Regions from separate parts of the Homo sapiens genome. Here region 1 is linked to region 2. Evidence: promoter capture Hi-C in human tissues and cell types (Jung and others, 2019). All regions are on one chromosome and are shown on one strand. The core of a region is centred on a gene start or on the middle of the fragment in contact, and the rest is flanking DNA. Distances in the headings are between cores, read along the strand shown. Region 1 overlaps LOC105372505 (a long non-coding RNA gene). Region 2 holds the start of TMC2 (transmembrane channel like 2).

The links. Contacts are between HindIII fragments. The study calls those that stand out against the background at their distance.
Region 1: a fragment that was not itself captured here is called in contact with the fragment with the promoter of TMC2 in region 2 in 9 of the 25 tissues and cell types used here (H1 embryonic stem cells, dorsolateral prefrontal cortex, heart left ventricle and 6 more).

Annotation. Positions count from the first base shown.
Region 1 is chr20:2,643,712-2,646,522 of GRCh38, reverse strand. LOC105372505 (a long non-coding RNA gene) reads left to right here. Exons shown (of 5, transcript XR_007067502.1): 2 at 2,142-2,795. Among named protein-coding and RNA genes, the nearest start is that of NOP56, 7.5 kb to the left of the region's middle. The HindIII fragment of the contact is 9,020 bases long and covers 1-2,811 here.
Region 2 is chr20:2,535,206-2,537,905 of GRCh38, reverse strand. TMC2 (transmembrane channel like 2) reads right to left here and starts at 1,333. Exons shown (of 20, transcript NM_080751.3): 1 at 1,251-1,333; 2 at 590-637. The coding sequence starts at 1,284. All of the region lies in intron 2 of LOC105372504 (a long non-coding RNA gene), which reads left to right. The HindIII fragment of the contact is 10,824 bases long and covers 1-2,700 here.

The DNA.
Region 1 (2,811 bases), core at 215-2,714, 110 kb before region 2:
TTCAAGCTAATACTATATTGAAAGATAAAGTATCTGGCACAACACTGCAGACAGTTGTCTTTAATAGCAATCCTCACACTCTATAAACAAACCTGCTTAGAATATTTGATGGTACTCACACACCTGGTGATTTTGCCATTGAAAATTATACTTCAGTTTTTATTCCCTAGGAATCAAAAGGGATAAAGTTCCTATCTTATTTTTGTTTTTGAGACAGGGTCCCTCACTTTGTCACCCAGGCTGTAGTGCAGTGGTGTGGTCTCGGCTCACTGCAACCTCTGACTCCTGGGCTCAAGCGATCCTTTCCATCTCAGCCTTCCGAGTAGTTGGAACTACAGGCATGCACTGGCTAATTTTTGTATTTTTTGTAGAAATGGGGTATCACCATTTTGCCCAGGCTGGTCTCGAACTCCTGGGCTCAAGCAATCCACTTGCCTCAGCCTCCAAAATGCTAGGATTACAGGCATGAGCCACCATGCCTGGCCTCTATCCTTAGTTTTAAAGTCATCTCTTGGGAACAGCTTATAGGATTTTAAAATCTCCATCAGATAGTCTTTGCCTTCTATCTAGAAGTTTAGTCCGTTTGCATTTATTTTGATTCCTGATATATTTTGGTTTATTTCTTTCGTCTTATGTGCTTTATATTTTATTTGTTGTGCTATTTTTGTTTATTTGCCTTTTTTCTTCCTGTTTTGGAGGCACTATCAACCTAATGCCACTTTTTTTTTTCTTTTCTGAGATGGGGTTTTGCTCTTGTTGCCCAGACTGGAGTGCAATGGTACAATCTCGGCTCACCACAACCTCCGCCTCCCGGGTTCAAGCGATTCTCCTGCCTCAGCCTCTCGAGTGGCTGGGATTACAGGCATGAGCCAACATGCCCAGCTGATTTTTGAATTTTTGGTAGAGACGGGGTTTCACCATGTTGGACAGGATGGTCTCGGCCTCTTGACCTTGTGATCCACCCGTCTTGGCCTTCCAAAGTGCTGGGATTACAGGTGTGAGCCATCACGCCTGGCCTGAAAGTCTTGAAAAAAATAAATTAAAATTTTCATTTGAGTTTTTTGGAACATACAGATACAGTTGACCCTTGAACAACATGGGTTTGAACTTCACAGATCCACTTATATGTGATTTTCTTCCATCTCTGCCACCCCTAAGACAGCAAGACCGACCCCTTTTCTTCCTCCTCCTCCTCCTCCTCAGCCTACTCAGCATGAAGATGACAAGGATGAAGACTTACGATGATCCACTTTTGCTTGATGAATATTAAATATATTTTCTCCTCTTCATGATCTTCTTAATAACATTTTTTCCTAGCTAGCTTATTCTATTGCAAGAATACAGTATTAATACATGTAACATATAAAATTTGTGTTAACTGACTTTATGTTATCAGTAAAACTTCCATTCAACAGCAGACTACCATTAGTTAACTTCTGGGGAAGTCAAAAGCTATACATGGGTTTTTGACTGCAGGGGGGTCAGCACTCCTAGACCCAGTGTTGTTCAAGGGTCAACTGTAGCATATGAATTTAGAGCCTCTCTGTGAGAGCTGCCTTGTGGCTAGAACTTCTCAATGGAGACTTTTTCTCCTCTACTTTCTGCCAAGGTCAAGAGAAATACATGTCTCTTTCTGCATGGCGGGTTTATTTTTTATTGTCCATTATTGAGCATGAGGAACTTGGTGCTCCAGCTTTGGGTGGGTCTCTACCCACCCACTTCAGAGCACGTCTGAAGTGACTTTACTGAGCTGAGCGTTACCACCATAGTGAGTGCTATTGGTAACCTGCCCAGATCACCTTACTGGCTGGTGCATCAGCCCCTCCCCTTAGTTTCTGCGAGTGTGCAAATCAGTGGGAGACCAGGTATCCCCTTTGATCTTCTTCATCTAAAGTGTCTTCCTACTTATGTGATTCTGTGTACTATGGAGCTCTTAGGAAATAGAAATGGAAGTTGAAGTTATTAGAAGTGAAAGGATCAGCCTACAAAAATAGCTTCCAACAGATAAAATCCAGCATCTGCTCCATTTCTCTCCAGTTAGGAATGCGCAGCCAAACTAGGGTAATATCAGCAGGACACCAGTTATATTTCTCTGGATAAATGGTTAATTTTCTTCTTTCTTTTTTTTCTTTTCTTTTCAGACGGAGTCTTGCTCTGTCACCCAAGCTGGAGTACAGTGGTACAATCTCGGCTCACTGCAACCTCCGCCTCCTGGGTTCAAGCGATTCTCCTGCCTCAGCCTCCCAAGTAGCTGGGATTACAGAAGCGCACCACCACACCTGGTTAATTTTTGTATTTTTAGTAGAGACGAGGTTTCACCATGTTGGCCAGGCTGGTCTCAAACTTCTGACCTCAAGTGATCCACCCACCTCGGCCTCCCAAAGTGCTGGGATTACAGGCATGAGCCACCACGCCTGGCCAGAGTTGTCTTGATAGAGGTCTTGTAATTATTTGAATTAGAAAATTTTCTGTTAAAATATGTCCACAAATTCTTTGGTAACCCTCCCTTCAAGAAGTGAAGCCTAAATCCCTTCCCTTCCAGTGTGAGCTAGACTTAGTGACTCAGTTCTATGAGTAAAAGTGGTGGAACTGATAGTGTGACTTCTGAGACTAGGTCATAATAGGCATTGTGGCTTCCTCCTTGCTCTCCCTCTCAGATCACTTGCTCTGGGGGAAACCAGCAGCCATGTTGTGAGGACACCCAAGCAGCTCTATGGAGAGGCCTACATGGAGAGTAACCAAGGTCCCCTATCAATAGCCAGCAAGGAACAGAAGCCTCCTGCCAACAGTCACGTGTGAGCCATGTTGAGA
Region 2 (2,700 bases), core at 84-2,583:
TATTTTGTGACATGAAGATGCCCAGCCTGTGAGTGTGGCTTCTGCCCCTCTCCCCTGAACCCTCAGTCTCAACCAAGGGTTTTCTCTCCCGCCTATGGCTTCCTTGGGCTCTCCCACTTCTCCTGGAGCAAGTTGGCTCCCTCACCGGCTCACGGGAGAGCTGTGGTCACATTCCCAGTGGGAAGGTGATGGAGCACCCATTATGCCTACTACTTTTTGGAGGTTAAGAGTGTTCCTCCTAGAGTCCGGGGGCCTGGATGTGAATCTGGCCACACCACCCGCCAGAAGCCTGCACCGAGCTTCCCTGCCCTCTGTCTGGTGAATGTTCACTGCTTCCCAAGGCTCAGCTCAGAGTGTCACTAACCCTGGGAGTCTCCCCTGACACCGAGGGCTGAGCAGCACCTTCTCTGAGTGGTACTCTGCCCCCTCCCATGTTAAACACCTTGCCTCCCAGGAAGGCTCCATGCAGGGTGTTGAATGAGAGGGAAGGAGATGAAGGAGAATGTTGGATGGGTGGCTGGACTGTTGGGCTAAGCAGAGGGCACCCAGGCACTGCAGGCTCCCCAGAGACCCCACCACCCCATCTCACCTGTGTGTGGAGAGCCGCTCTTCACCCGCCCTTTCACTCCGCCTCGTGCTGTAAGAGACAGGATTGCTGACAAATGGCTGGCCTCTGGTGAGTCCCCCTCCCTGCAGACCCCCGGTCACTGTGGGACCCCTCAGCTGATTTGTGGCTGCCTCAAACTGGGACCCAGCTCCAATGATTTTACTCAGCAAATTATAGAGTCCCCTGCCTGTCACATTTGTCTGATACTGTCAGTCATGAGGTCAGAACATCCCCCACCCCCTGCCCTGCACAGAGACAGAGACAGATAGAAATCTGCTGAGGGGCTTGCTCGGAACAGGCAACCCTAACCGAGACAATAGGTGGCTGAGACGCCCCAGCAGGCTCTGAGGAGCATGCATCGGCCGTGACAGTCTCCAGTGCTGGCCTGAACACAGGTGCTGTGCACAGGTTGTCTTGAATCCTTCCAGTAGCCCTGCAAGGAGGTGATGACTACCCCCATCTCATGCGTGAGGATCAGAGAGGTTGAATAACCAGCCGAGGTCGCTCAGCGCACAGGGGACAGGCCCTGGACTCAAACCCAGCTCCTCCCTATGCCTCTGAACACCATATGTGCTTCCCCCATCCCCTGCTGCTGCCCAGGAACCCTGTGGGCGGGCCCCGCAGGATCAGGACGTGGACTCACCTTCCTCTTTCAGGCCCTTTACCTGGTGGCTCATGGTCAGCAGCACTGCTGGGGTCCTGCACAGGCTCACGCAGCGTGCTCCTGTATGCACGCCTTCAGCCTGGGCTGCTTTCCTGCCCTCATGGTGGCTGGCCTCCCTTCCTAGACCTGACAGCAGGCGGGGCTTCTTGGTTTGAGATTGAATGTGGAGGTGGGTGAAGTTTGGGGGAGAGAGACGGGTGAAGGAAGGCGACGAGTTCCCGGCCCATCAATCCGGCCACACACTCCTCTTCTCAGGTTTCCCTGCAAAGAGGCAGCATGGCCTCATGTTTCAGGCATCAGTTATACATGAGGGGCCCTGGAGGGGCCAGGAGCTGCAGGCTTATCTCCTGGCAATGATGCCGCTGGCACTCTAGCCAGAGGAGGTGTGAGGAGCATCCCAGGCCCTCTCCCACTATCTTGAGTCCCTGATTGGGACAAAGCACCAGGGAAATTCTAGAATGTTTGTTTAAGTTATTACTTGGGCTTCTGTTTAAAATGCAGATTCTGGCATGTGGTGGTTCACACCTGTAATCTCAGCACTTAGGAAGGCAGAGGCAGGAGGATTGCTTGAGCCCAAGAGCTCAAGACCAGCCTGTGCAACGTAGTGAGACCCCATCTCCACAAAAAGAAAAATAATAATAATAAATTTTTAAAAATAAAATGCATACTCCCAGGAGTGGCACTGGGCGTTGGAATCAGTCAGTCTGTGCCAGGCCCTGGGAGCCTGCACTGTGGATCCTGCTGCAGGCGTCCTGAGCCCACACAGATGAATGTTCCCGCTCAGCCCCCGCCCCCTCCCTCAGCAGCTTTTCCTCCCTGGCTTCAGGGAGGCACAGATTTGGCTGCTTTGAAAACCATCACTAAAGTGTCAGAGGGACCCTCTGGAAGGCAGTCATAAGGTCTCAGAGTGTGGAGTTCTTAATCTGGAGTCCCTGGAACCCCCAGAGCTGTGGATGGAATTCTGTGGGTTTGTGAATAGTGATGGAGAAAATACTACACTTTCACTTTTCCTAGCCTTAACTGCGATTTAGCATTTCCCTCAATCATGAATGTAAGCAAAGATGTGATTTTTGTCTCAGCAAAAGTCACAGTTATTTTTTTTCCCAATTAAACCACTGGGGATGTCTCAAAATATCTTACATGTTATCACAACTTCAAAATTATGATAGTTAGAGACCTGCCATGAAATCTTGTTATTTAATTAGGAAGCATATATTGTCATTATATGAAAGATATTTAAAGTGATTTTGATGCCTATTTCAGGATCATTGGTCTCCTTTGTAATCCTAGTGTTTTATTTTATGGATTTAATGTCTATGTTCTGAAAAGCGGTCTGTGGCTGGGCGTGGTGGTTCACGCCTGTAATCCCAGAATTTTGGGAGGCCAAGGCAGACGGATCACCTAGGGTTGGGAGTTCCGGACCAGTCTG